Linked DNA regions of Homo sapiens: region 1 is linked to region 2. The links are contacts of gene promoters, found by promoter capture Hi-C in human tissues and cell types (Jung and others, 2019). All regions are on one chromosome and are shown on one strand. Each heading gives the region's core, a stretch centred on a gene start or on the middle of the fragment in contact. The rest is flanking DNA. Distances are from core to core; before and after follow the strand shown.

Region 1 (6,923 bases), core at 4,140-6,639, 410 kb before region 2:
CTCCTCAGCCTCCCAAAGTGCTGGGATTACAGGCATGAGCCACCGCACCTGGCCTGATTATAGTTAATAAAAATATCTCGTATTCTTGAAAATCAGTGAGAGTAGACTTTGTATTGTCACCACAAAAAGTGGTAAGTATATGAAGTAATGCATATGGTAATTAGCTTGTTTAGCCATTTCCCAGTGTATAAATATTTCAAAACATCATGTTGTACACGGTGAATATATGCAATTTTTATTTGGCAATTAAAAAATTTTTTAAAAGCATGGCATGTGACAAATTCTGTTACATTATAGTCTATAAATGAATAGATGATCATTGGGAAGAGGACATGCACTGAGTGCCGGGAGGGTTGAGGACAATATGTTTCTGGAACAGGTGAGACTGAGCAGGGGATATTTCAGGTTACTCAGACAGTAAGCTATTTGTGTTGCAGACATTTGTCCTGGGTTTTGGCTGCTGGACTGAGGAAGGTATCAGCTTAACTATCTCCCACAAGGGAATCTACCAGCATTTACATTTTTTTGGCCATTTTGAGAATTGTCCTTATCCTGAGGAAAAACCATATTGTATCAAATTTATAAAGTATAAAACAATAAGATAATTCAAAAATGTTTAAATCACCCATAATGTTCCCACCCTGTTTATTTAACATTGGCATGAGAGTCAGTTAAGACTTTACAAATTTTAACTTATTTAATCATCGTTAACAACTCTGTGAAGTAGATACCATTATTATTCCATTTGATAGTTGAGTACTCTTAGAGTTACAGAGATGTTAAGTAATGTGTCCAAGGTTACACAGTGTGTGGCAGAATTGAAACTTGAGCACAGGCTGACTCCAGAGTCCATGCTCTTATCTGCTCTACTCTCAGGTCTCTCATATGGTACTTGGTGGCCTCCAAAGGCGGTTAACAATTTAGCAGATTTTCTTCCATTTGCTTTCCTGGTTTTTGAATTTTTGGTAAGGCTCTAAAATCCTAGAGTTTTTACTTGCTTTTGAAATATATTTTTTTTTCTTTCTGAAGTTGGTCTCACTCTGTCACCCAGGCTGGAGTACAGTGGTGGGATCATAGCTCACTGAAGCCTCCAGCTCCTGAGCTCAAGCCATCTTCCCGCCTTGGCCTCCCAAGGAGCTGGGATTATAGGCGTACATACCCATGCCTGACTATTTTTTTTTTTTTTTTTTTTTTTGGAGAGAGACGGGGTCTCGCTATGTTGACCAACCTGCTTTTGAAATTCACTGGGATAAGAGGCAAGGTAGAGACTAGGCTCCCTCAGAGAAACTATAAGTCATTTGTCTCCCTACCTTCCTTCCCTCTAGGTGCTGTGAGAAGCCATCTTTCCGACTTCAAAAAACACCGAGCTGCTAGAATTGACCACTATGTTGTGGAAGTCAATAAACTAATAATCAGGTTAGAGAAGGTAAATTTTGTTGTCTTAAAACATTTTTTTCTACAAATACACATTTTCTGGGGAAAAATAATCACATTTCTATAGCCTGTGTTGTATATATCATATACATCTGATGGTGGCAGAGAAACACCTTCTCTAGAGAGGTGCAAAGGACATGGTGGACAGTTCTAGCCTGGGCCAGCATTCCTTAAGAGAATGGCCCAGGTTGACAAACTTGCCACATGCTTAGCTTCCCTTTTCCCACCTATGAATCCCACTCAGGTGCTGGAAAACCTTTCTTCCTTCAGATTCTTCTTTTGGGTGTCCCAGGCACAATCATCCAGTGAGGTGTAGTGTGTGATGGCAAACAAAGAAGTGGTCACCAGGTCTCACGGGTGTATTTTCATCCTAGTTGTGCTTGTTGTGTGTAACCTGGATTGTGTGCTGGGCATAGTAGCAAGCACAAGTACAGTTCTTTATGTGTACTTTGTAAGGCAGAAATATGTGGCCAGTTTTAGGGTCCAGGAGCACCGTGGAGAATGGAGAGTTTTCTGTTGCTTTCAGTCGTTGCCCTTACCCATCCTTGCCTACCCCTGGTTATTGCTAAAATGGGTAACTGACAATAAAGAGATTAGAAGTGGGTTATAGGAAGCGAGGTGGGTTCTAGATGCAAAACTAATACCCTGTCCCATGTGAAATTGTTTTTGTGATTTTGTGGCGTTGGGGATGACAGATGAGACTTGAGGAATGCAAATGTGCTAATTTCCCACTTGATGTATTGGAAAGTGTGGAGCATGTATACATCACCTGGTTAATTTCATTTGGCACTATTTTCTTCCGGTCAGCTCACTGCATTTGACAGAACAAATACTGAGTCTGCAAAGATTCGAGGTAACTTTAAAACTTTGCTCACATTCATCTTATTATCTTTTTTTCCCTGACCAAAGCTCTCTTTAAAATGGCCTGCTTTCTTGTTGGTTTGCTCTTCCCAAAGCAATAGAAAAGTCTGTGGTGCCTTGGGTCAACGACCAGGATGTCCCTTTCTGTCCAGACTGTGGGAATAAGTTCAGCATCCGGAACCGCCGCCACCACTGCCGCCTCTGCGGGTCTATTATGTGCAAGAAGTGTATGGAGCTCATCAGCCTTCCCTTGGCAAGTAGGTGACTTGGAGGTGGGGCCCTGGACCCTCATCTTCTTTTGGGCCTAGCTTATTTGCTAATTACCACTGGGATCGTGGAACCTTTTTGTTAAATTAATGGCTCATGGGAATCTTCATTCATTGAGTTGCTGTTTCTGTGAAACCCACTACAGACTAGGTACTATGCTAGGGGCCAGGGATACAGTGGTCTATAACAGGGATTGGCAAACTTTGTAAAGGATCAGATAGTAAATACATTTAGGCTTTGTGGGCCACATATGGTTGCTGTGACATTTCTTCTTTCTTTAAACAACCTTTTAAAAATGTGAACACTAGACTGGGCACAGTGGCTCATGCCTGTAATCACAGCACTTTGAGAGGCCAAGGCAGGCGGATCACTTGAGGTCAGGAGTTTGAGACCAGCGTGGCCAACATGTTGAAACCCTGTCTCTATAAAAATACAAAAATTAGCCTGGCGTGGTGGCATGTGCCTGTAGTCCTAGCTACTCAGGAGGCTGAGGCAGGAGAATTGCTTGAACCTGGGAGGTGAAGGCTGCAGTGAGCTGAGATTGAGCCACTGCACTTCAGCCTGGGTGACCGAGCGAGACTCCCATCTCAAAAAAATAAATAAATAAAATAAAATAGCAATGTGAAAATTATACTTAGTTTGAGAGCCATATAGAAACAGCCTGGAGGCTGGACTTGGCTCACAGGTCATTTTTTGCCCATTTCTGGCCTATAAGCCTATAAGGCATTGTCCATTCTTCCAAGGAGTCTAGCATCTATCAGGGGATATAAACTCACAAATAAATAATTGCTTTCTAAAGAGAGATGTACAATGAAAGAGACTGTCAGGAACTCAGGAGAGGCTGACCAACTCTTTGTCTGCTCTGCTTGGAAGTGGCAAGTGTGACTTTGAGAAGAGGGTCTTGAATATAAGCAGTGGGCTAGTCCCTTCCTGTGGGATAAGTCACAGACAACTCACTGCCATATAGAAAAGACTAATATCATAATATGAGAGATGCTGAGTGCTGTGGGCTCAGGGACAGTGAGAGCATGCATGCTTAGGGCTGGGAGGTGATGTTCAAGAAGAGCCTTAAAAGATGAGTAGGATTGCAAAAGAGATGGAGAAAGAGGACATTTTAGGTAGAGTGAAGAGTAGGAGCAAAGGCATGGAATTCTGGAAAGCCCAGGGTAGGTTAATAGATGAGCAAATAGAATAGTTGGGGGTGTGTGGAGGACAAAGTTTAGGTGGAACCCGATCCTCCAGGACTTTGCAACCAAGCTGAGTAGAAGTTGCTGAAGATGATCTCATTGGCTTCTGGGAAGTTTGGGGTAAATTTGCAACACTAGAGAGTTCTGCTGACTGTGCACACTGTTGGCCATGGGGTGTCTGGATAATGTGGGGACAAAAACAGATGCTTCTTCTTTCCAACTCTCACATATACCAGGTCACTGTACCTTGATACTTTCTCCCTGAGACCAACTCCCTGTCTCACATGAGATTTTATAAGCTGCCTTTTTGGGACACTATTCACCCTTCTTCTCTTGAGCTCTTTAGCCAGCATTTACTGGGCAGCTGCTGTGGGGTGGCCCTGCTGGATATGTTAAGTGTACAAGTGTGAGTAAGACACAGTTCGTACCCACAAAGAGTCATAGGTTCCTAGGGCAGCTCTGGGGTGTACATGCAACTGTACACAGGGAGAAGAGTGGAAAGTGCTCCAAAATGGGCAATGTGGTGGGAACTGATGGGAAGGATGGATAGTTTTTGCCTCAGGGAATTGGAAAAGGCTTTCCTGGAGGACCTGCCATTCAGAGAGGGTAGGAGCCAGATGTTTGGGAATAGGGAGAAGGCTGTGGAGGAAAGTCTCCTGGGAGAATGTTTGTTGTGTTGGAGGCACAGGGCAAATGCAGGAGAGTGGCAGGTGGAAAGGGAAGGCTGTTTGGATTTGGAGGGGCAGCAGTGGAGTCCTTTCTCACCAGAGTCTGACACCAGGAAGGCAGAGGGGCAGTACGTGCCCACAGCTGGAGCCTGATCTTATTACTCTCCAAATCAAACACCTGTGGACTGACACCTTGAGGTCGTGGGTATGGTAATTGGATGCTGTGGGGGTCATTGCTGCCTGTTGGTGTTGTGGTTACAGACAAGCTCACCAGTGCCAGCAAGGAGTCCCTGAGCACCCACACCAGCCCCAGCCAGTCACCCAACAGTGTCCATGGCTCCCGCCGAGGCAGCATCAGCAGCATGAGCAGTGTCAGCTCGGTCCTGGATGAGAAGGACGATGACCGGATCCGCTGCTGTACACACTGCAAGGACACGCTGCTCAAGAGAGAGCAGCAGATTGATGAGAAGGAGCACACACCTGACATCGTGAAGCTCTACGAGGTGATTCGCGCTGTCTGGTCTTGGGTCTAATTTCTTAGGCAGATTTGGCTGTTTGTTATGTACACTCCTGCAGATTCTGGAGAATGCTTTGGGAAGTTGTTCGTTTGAATTATTTGTAGTTCCTGTTAAAGGCCCATGTTATGATTTCCCAGCTAGGGCCCTGTGTGAGTCAGAGTCATCCTGGGTGTGTTGCAACAAACTCGTTTCAAGTGGCCTTCCTTGGCCACTTGAAAGCAGGTGGGTGGAAGCTTTGGTGGCCCAGAGGCAATAGGAGGAAGGGCAGTTGCCATGTGGTGTAGACAGGTTCTGTGGGAAGGGCAGAAGCTAGAGATGTTCATAAACAGTGGGCCAGAAGAATCCTGGGAAACTCACTTGGGAGTGTTAGACTTTACAAGTTTTAGAAAGTTCTACAAGTTTTCAGGCTTCACCAGTTTACTGAGTGTCCCCTTCTAAGTTTGTCCAAATGCCTCAGCTGTCGTTACTTGAGTGATCCCACAGCCCCCCTACTAGATGCATACTCTGAGAGGAAATAGTGTGCAAAGAATATCTGGGAGTGAGACTGGCTTGGTCCCTTAATGGCCAGGTGAGACCTGTGAGCTGAGGAAGACTAGCCAGGTGGACTGGGTGGGGAGGCAGTAAGAGATGCAGGGAAGAGATCAGCCCAGGCAGAGGAAGCAGCTTGTGCAACATTCTGAACAGAGGAAGAGTGTAATTTTGCCTAATGACCACTGAATAGTCATTGTTAGTAGTTCTGCAGGTCATAATGGCACTGTTTCTGGAATCCCTATGTAAATACTCAGGCTACTAGAAATGGTGTCAATTAAGCCCCATGTTGGGTTGCAGATGTAGCATTCTCCATCCTTTGTGTGGAGTTCACGACCTGGTATCTCATTTCTGTGAATACCCACGGTGCTTGTGCCACCTCCTCTTTTGAAGTAAGCCCTGGCAATGCCTTGTGCTGGTTTCCCATTGTTGCCTGGCATCACTTGGCAGAGAAAGAAAGTAGCAGCTAATTCCTTTTTGTCTTGGTAGACACCTTGGCTTGTGCCCTGGAAGCCTTGCTCCTCTCAAAAACATCTCGCCGGGCACTTTGGGAGGCCGGGGCAGGCAGATCATTTGAGGCCAGGAGTTCGAGACCAGCCTGGCCAACATGGCAAAACCTCGTCTCTACTAAAAATATAAAAATTAGCCGGGCGTGGTGGCAGCGTGCCTGTAATTCCAGCTACTCAGGACGCCGAGGCATGAGAATCGCTTGAGCCCAGGAGGCAGAGGTTGCAGTGAGTGGAGATCGCGCCATTGTACTCCACCTTGGGTGACAGAACAAAATTCCTTCTCAAAAAAAAACAAAACGAAACATCTGATCAGAAGCTCCATTCTCACTTTCTTTCCTTCCTACAAAATTTTCTGCTTGGAAAGTATGCCTATAAATCAGGAAATTGATAACAACAATTAATGTGTTAGAAAAGTGAACATTTTAAATATAGCTCCATTGATGGAGCCTAGCTTCTGGGTAGGTGTTTCTATATCTTGAGCATACCACTTACCTCTTTGTTTTTGTTCTTAGAAATTACGACTTTGCATGGAGAAAGTTGACCAGAAAGCTCCAGAATACATCAGGATGGCAGCATCATTAAAGTAAGCTATTCATCTATGTTTTTCTAATCCAGTGGTGACTGTTTTCTGGCATTTTAGGTCAATTCTCCAGTAGCCAAAAATGAAAATCTTAACTTCAACCGTGCTTTTTTTCTGAGACCAGCTGAAGTTGGTTTTTTTCCACTTTTGGCTATTATGAAGAGAATCATCTTCATGTCTGTCTTTTAGTGGGGTACAGGCTACCATCACATGAGCTTGTAGAAAGACAGCCACATTCAGTTGACCTTGGCTATTCTGACTGAGCAGGTTTGGGAAGGGCCTCAGACAATAGGTACTGCTGCTGAGTGCAGCATCTGGACAGAGCAGAGGAAGGGCAGTGGGTCTCATGCTCATGTCTGGGTAGATGCCAC
Region 2 (7,119 bases), core at 3,387-5,886:
TCCAAACTCAGAGGTGAACATGTGACTACATCCTGGCCTGAGATGCAGATGAAGCTCCTGGGTAAAGGACCCTGAGAAATCTGTTTGAAGGAGACTGCCTTCAGGGAATGAACATAATTTTTTTTTTTTGTACCAGCTGACCTCTCTAGTCCTTCTTGCCTGAAATGGATAAGATGGCTGCAGCTCCAGCAACCATTTTGAGCCACGAGGTTACCCTGAAGAGGGAAACTTCGCATTAAAGGTGGCCAAGCTGCGCAGCAGAGCCCGGGCTCCTGATGACATTGTGGCACCCACACCAGCACTCAACCATCCACCTCCAGGCTTTTTCCACATGCAAATGAACCTCTAATGCCTTTAAGCCACTTTATTTAGCTCTCTATTCTGGCCAATGAAAGTGATTCCCCACTGACCCCCAGCCATGTTAGATCATCACTCCTTCCTTCCCATTTATCCAATTTCTATTTTGTCATTCATTTTTCCATCACTGAGACATGGATCTTGACCTAAAGTAACTCAACAATGAACAGGCAGAGCAGACTTACAAAACTGACTTATGTGATAAGGGTCACACTACAGAAAAACATACAAAGGCCATGAAAACAAAAACAAAAACAAAAAGGAAAGAACTGGCACTAGACAGTGTTCTAAAAGATGAGTAAGAAGTTGCCAGGCAGATAGGAACAAGACAGGCATTCTAGGAAGAAGAAACAGCACCTACAAAGAGATGGTGACATTGGAAGCATGGTGGGCTCAGAGGACTGCACACACCTCAGTATGTCTGGGATGTGGGGGGATCCGTGGGAGAGCAGCAGATGAAACTGGGAAAGTGGCCTAGAATCAGATCTTGCAGGGCCTTGTATGTCATTCCAAAGAATTTGCATGTGCTATATAATCAAATACTCCATGCAAATACTGAAATGTATTGTCTTTAATGGCTAATTGTGTTCCATATGGTCTCATCTCTGCAATTGGAGGGCAGGGGCCATGTCTTCTCTTTTATAATCTCTACAATGCTAAGCCCAGCACTGCTACATGCCAGAAACGGAAAAATATCTGTAGCATTAAAGTCAGCCACATAGCCTAAGGGACCCACGCAGATGGCTATAAACAAAGCTTCAAGATGCAATTCCCACAAAGGAATGAAATGTATAAGAAATTTATAAAGGATATGAGGGATGACCATGGACGCAGCACCTTCTTCAGTCAACAATCTGCTGCATGTCTCCACTGTTTCCAGTTAGCTTCTGGGACAGGGATGGGGAAGGCATGGGCCCTGCTCTCGAGGGGCTCACAGTAGAGAGGGGAGACACACACACAGAAGGCTACAGTAAGTCAGAGTGCTCTCTGCAAGGCGGAATGGAAACCCAGAGAAGGAAGTGTCACTGGGAGGGCAAGAGTTAAGGTTCTCACGTCACATGAATGTGTGTTTAGGCAATGTGACCTTGAGCCCAGCCTTTGATCTGTGTGATGTTCCCAATGGCCACGTGTGACACTAGTCCCCACCTTCAAGGACTGTGAGGATTAGTGAGGTGGTGTGTGTGAAGGGTCAGCACACACGCAGCACAGAGTTGAATGCTCAGTAATTGTTAGGTAGAAAAAAGGTCATTATTTGAAGTGGTCAAAGGTTGTATTACAGGCGATGGGCACAGCTCTTGTACAGGCTGAAGGCTCCAAACAGCCCTGACAAGTTTGTGGAACAGCAAGGAACTGGATGCCGCTACAGGGTAGTGTAGAGGTGGGGAGGGTAGGACCAGGTGAGAGGAGCCTGAGCTTGATCTTGTAGCTGATGGGAAACTACTGAAGTTGGCAAACAAAGGAGGCATCTGCATTGTAGGGTGCTCCTTCTGCTGCTGGCAGCGTGGAGGGAAGTGTGGTGGGGTGAGTGGATATGGATAGCTGCTGCTAGGGGTTAGCCAAGGATGTGAGCTGCACCCACAGCACACTTATTTCTGCCTACGATCAAAAAAGGATGTTCAGGCCAGGCATGGTGGCCCACACCTGTAATCCCAGCACTTTGGGAGGCCGAGGCGGGCAGATCACCTGAGGTCAGGAGTTTGAGACCAGCCTGGCCAACATGGTGAAACCCCGTCTCCAGTAAAAATACAAAAAGTAGCCAGGTGTGCTGGTGCGCACCTGTAATCCCAGCTACTCAGGAGGCTGAGGCAGGAGAATCGCCTGAACCCGGGAGGCAGAGGTTGCAGTGAGTTGAGATCGCGCTATTGCACTCCAGCCTGGGCAACAGGAACGAAACTCCCGTCTAAAAAAACAAAAACAAAAACAAAAAAAAGGATGTCCAGTCCTAGGAGCACCTGGAAGGGTATAAAAAGGCACAGACCCAGCAAACTGCCAGGGGTACATGATGGTGCAAAAGCAGGACAGGGAGGAAAAGGGAAGACGTTCTGAATGAGCTTCAGGAAAATCAAGGGTACCCGGCCAGAAGGCAGCTGAGGGGAAATAAGCATAGATTTAAAAGCAGAGAGAGGGCATACCTCCACCCCTTTACTGGCACTGATTCAGAACACATTTTTTGGTCAAAGTATACACAGCTGTATACTTAAGAAGACAATCAAACTAAGCCTCCTCAGGTTATCTGGTCACGGTGTTCTCTGCTATTTTCTCTAGTTTCTGGCTCTCTGATTTTAATCAGAAATACTTCTGATAAGGGCAGCGAGTCCAGATGTCAGCGCGTGACTGCAATTTGTGAGCAGGCATGGCTTTAGGCTAGGACAGGTCTGAGAATCAGCCCTCACTAGATGCATAAAAGAAATGGAGGTGGACCTAGGAAAATTAATAGATGCTGTTCTCTGTACTGTTAAGCATATAAAACAGCATTCTGGACAGATGCTTGGCAGAGAAAAGGAAAGAAGGGCTCTGCTAGAGAGAAGTGGATCTTAAGGTGAGCAGAGTTGGGGCCACTGCACATAAGATTGAGCTTAACTTCATGAGAAGCCAAGGTTTAATGTGACACTGGAATCTCATGGTAGCCATCCTAGAGTGGATTCTCAAGGAGATTCACTGTGGTATCAAAGGGCCCTTACTGTGATGGGTCTCCTGACAAGACCCATGAAGAAACATAAAATTGACCATCTCTTTGACCCAGTTTTCCTGCTTATGAAAGTGGCACCCCAGGGGACAGTTTCAAAATGGGGGGGAGGAGTGTCAGGGAAGTTATCTGTATAAAGATCGATGTTTGTTAAACCATACTAAAAGATGCTTATAGCCACTTCATTCCCTATAGTGAAATAATGATGTACATTAAGCTGATGAACTATTAGGCAACAATTAAAAATAACTAGGAAGCTCGGTTTTAGAAATGTTAAAGAAAGAAGAACCAAATGGTGTGTATACACTGATTACACATTCCATGGAAACCTGTGCAGATCATAAGTTGGACACAGAGATACAAAGCCTTTTCTTTTTAAGGAAAAGGTGATTATTTTTGGAAAAGCAATAAAACCTGGGTTCCCAGCAAAGACAGTGGCACAGTTACCAGACTCACTTGCAACCTGGGAGACCTGGGCTGGGAGCAAGGTCCACTCTTGTATTTTTTGATTTTCAAAAACCGTGAACAACTATGGCTGTGCATGGAGAGGCTGGTGTGGGGTGGGGTGCGGGGAGGTGCTCTGTTCAACCGCAGGGAATAATGACCAAAAAAAAAAAGGCGGGGGGGAGGGGGAAGGAATGCAGTACACCCCACAGAAAATGCTTAAAACCTGGCCAAACTGTTACTAAGCATGTGAGCTTTCAGACTTAGGGAGAATGTGGCAATTAGAAATGTAGTGGAGGGCCGGGTGCAGTGGCTCACACCCGTCATCCCAGCACTTTGGGAGGATGAGGCAGATAGATCATCTGAGGTCAGGAGCTCGAGACCAGCCTGGCCAACATGGGTGAAACCCCATTTCTACTAAAAATACAAAAATTAGCTGGACGTGGTGGTGCATGCCTGTAATCCCAGCTACTCGGGAGGCTGAGGCAGGAGAATCACTTGAACCCGGGGAGTGGAGGTTGCAGTGAGCCACTGCACTCCAGCCTAGGCAGCAGAGCGGGACTCCATCTCCAAAAATAAATAAATAAATAAATAAATAACAAAAACAAAAGAAATACAGTGGAGAAAGAAGCTGTTTCAATTGAGGGTGGAACAGATGCAATATTTCTGGCCACTCCTACCACTGGACAAACACACACTTACTATGAGTGACTATATAGATGCAGCCTGGGATTTACTAAGAAACACCATAACAGAACATCGATAGGCCAGGTGACAGCTTTTCACTACAACACCTTACTTCCTTTGAACATTTGGATTTTCTAGTTTTCCTAGACAATGACCTACACCCATCATATCATTCCTGGCCTCTCGCCCCCAGTACACACACTTTAAACATGAAGATAATGTCCACAGCCCACCGGGGCAAAACACCTCACTCAGCCAGCTAACAGGGGCAGGCAGGATGACTGCAGTAGTTTCATCTACTCTCATTTTTTCAGTGGGTCAATGAATTCCTTTCAGTGATCATCACTCACCTTAGCCATGTAGTTTTTTATAGGAACTGCTTGCCGAATAACCGACTTAGTTCAATTTACTGACTTAAAAGGACACAGTATGGCATGGGCTACTCCAGGTTGTGTTAACTGTAAAGACCAGTACCCATCCCCGTTCCAAATTCTAAACTCTACTACCTCATCTGCATGTCACAACAAGGTCAGCTGAAAACCTCCCTGTGGGCTGCACTTGAGCTTTCACAGGGAATAAACGACATCACAAGTCTGGCAAATGTATGGCTAAACGCAGCAGGAATCTCATGTATATGGATCTGAATGTTCTTTGGGAATTCTGCAGCAAATAAAATGATTTATTGAGCCAATTCAAACGAACTCTATCAAAACACACAAAGGCCTAGAGGAGAGATTACAATGAACGTAAATAATTCAAGGCAATTTTTGATCTAAAGCATTTTGCTTAGCTCTACAAAGGCATGAATGAGGTGTGGTCACGTTTTTGTATAGGAGGTTTTGCCACTACTTGCTCCCAAGTTAAACATGGCCACAGAGTATTGTGAATGTTTAATGTATGCCTGGGAAAAATTTATTGGCCAATACTTTAGTTACTAATGGGAGGATTATGTATAGTCGGACCATAAAGCGTGTAAAAGCAGATCACTTAGAGCCGCTCTGTCCAGGACAGCAGCACTAGATGCATGGGCCCTTTGAGCACCTGAAATAAGGTTAGCATGACTAAGGAACTGGGTTTTATTTTTTCAAACTTGATGTTCAATTCAGTTACTGAAAAACTTTACTATGTTTAACTATCTTTGGAACAACTTGGATATGAATTTGTGTTTTTCAACTGCATATTTTACAAAATCTAAATACAGATCAAGTATTCCTGATGAAACGTTAGCATCCAAATTATGCTATAACCAGATACACAGTGAGTTTTGAATTCTTAGTGTGAAGAATAATTTTAGATCTCACTAATAATTTGCATATATTGAGTACATATTGAAATATTTTGGATATGCTGAGTTAAATAAAATATGTTATAATTTCACTTTTTAAATATGGTTGCTAGAAAATTGAAAATGACACTCTGGGCTTATTTTTTTTTTTTTAATTTTGAGACGGAGTTTCACTCGTTGCCCAGGCTGAAGTGCAATGGCGCAATCTCAGCTCACGGCAACCTCCACCTCCCAGGCTCCAGCGATTCTCCTGCCTCAGCCTCCCAAGTAGCTGGGATTACAGGCATGCGCCACAGATTTATTTTTTATTTCTGTTGGAGTGTGCTGTTTTAAGAGTATGGAGCTGACATTTAAGAATTCTAATGCCATCTGCTGGATACACTGGTACAAGACAGGCCCGTGTCACAGTAAGACTGTGATGGTGTGTCAATACTCAAAGAACTGGATCTGAAACAGAAAAGGGCTCACAAAACACTGAACTAAATTATACTGTTAAGAGGGGATTATAAATAGGTTTATTTAGTTTTTGAAATCCCAGAGAAAATGTGACTCACAGTTATCTTCAGATAACAGTGACCATGAGCCAACGAGCATAACTGCTTCGCCGTCCACCCGGGTGCTGCAGGCATGGATGTGGTCACCTGGGATGGACCCTTTGTGATGCTGGCTCCCACACCTACAGCTCTTCCTGCTGCCTGCCTTGTCTCTGTCTCCCTTCTCCTTTCTACTCCACAGTCAGCCTCAAGTCCTTCTGCTCTGGGTTACACACACATCCTCTTTCCATCTTTCTTTGTCTATTCATTGTTTTTTTTTTTTTTTTTGAGACACAGCCTTGCTCTTGTTGCCCAGGCTAGAGTGCAGTGGCGCGATCTTGGCTTACTGCAAGCTCCGCCTCCTGGGTTCATGCCATTCTCCTGCCTCAGCCTCCTGAGTAGCTGGGACCACAGGCACCTGCCACCACGCCTGGCTAATTTTTTGTATTTTTAGTAGAGACAGGGTTTCACCGTGTTAGCCAGGATGGTCTCGATCTCCTGACCTCGTGATCCGCCCGCCTTGGCCTCCCAAAGTGCTGGGATTACAGGCGTGAGCCACCGTGCCCAGCTGTTTTCTTTCTACCCTTTCTTTTTTCTATTTTTCCTATGATTCTAGCATGTCTAATAATTCTATTTTTCTTTTTAGTATTCCAATTTTTCTTTTTGTCTCCTCCCTCTTTATCCTACAAGCTGTTTCAGTAGGTTTTGTAGTTTTAGCTCTTACATTTAGGTCTTTGATTCATCGTGAGTTGATTTTTTGTATGTGGTGTGAGGCAGAAGTCCAAACCCATTCTTTTGCATGGAATATTCACTTGTCCCAGAACCATTTGTTGAAAAGACTGCTCTTTCCCCACTGGATGGTCCTGGCACCACTGTCAAAAATCAATTGACCACGGATATATGTTTTATTTCTGGACTCTCGCCTCTATTCCACTGATCTATGTGTCTATTCTTATGCCACTACCACACTGTGTAGATTATCGTAGCTTTGTGGTCAATCTTGAAATCAGGAAGTGTGAGTCCTCTTTGTTTTTTCTCTAGATTGTTTTGACTATTCTGGGTTCCTTGCATTTCCATGTGAATTTTAAGATTAGCTTGTCAATTTCTGCAAAAAAGGCAGCTGGGTT

Evidence for each region. Contacts are between HindIII fragments. The study calls those that stand out against the background at their distance.
Region 1: a fragment that was not itself captured here is called in contact with the fragment with the promoter of C3orf20 in region 2 in 1 of the 25 tissues and cell types used here (spleen).

What each region holds. Positions count from the first base shown.
Region 1 is chr3:15,080,364-15,087,286 of GRCh38, reverse strand. It overlaps RBSN (rabenosyn, RAB effector), which reads left to right. Exons shown (of 14, transcript NM_022340.4): 6 at 1,326-1,426; 7 at 2,242-2,287; 8 at 2,391-2,552; 9 at 4,679-4,920; 10 at 6,485-6,555. Among named protein-coding and RNA genes, the nearest start is that of RBSN, 15 kb to the left of the region's middle. The HindIII fragment of the contact is 8,610 bases long and covers 1,085-6,923 here.
Region 2 is chr3:14,672,658-14,679,776 of GRCh38, reverse strand. C3orf20 (chromosome 3 open reading frame 20) reads right to left here and starts at 4,636. Exons shown (of 17, transcript NM_032137.5): 1 at 4,525-4,636. RefSeq lists an enhancer at 6,075-6,124. The HindIII fragment of the contact is 10,656 bases long and covers 349-7,119 here.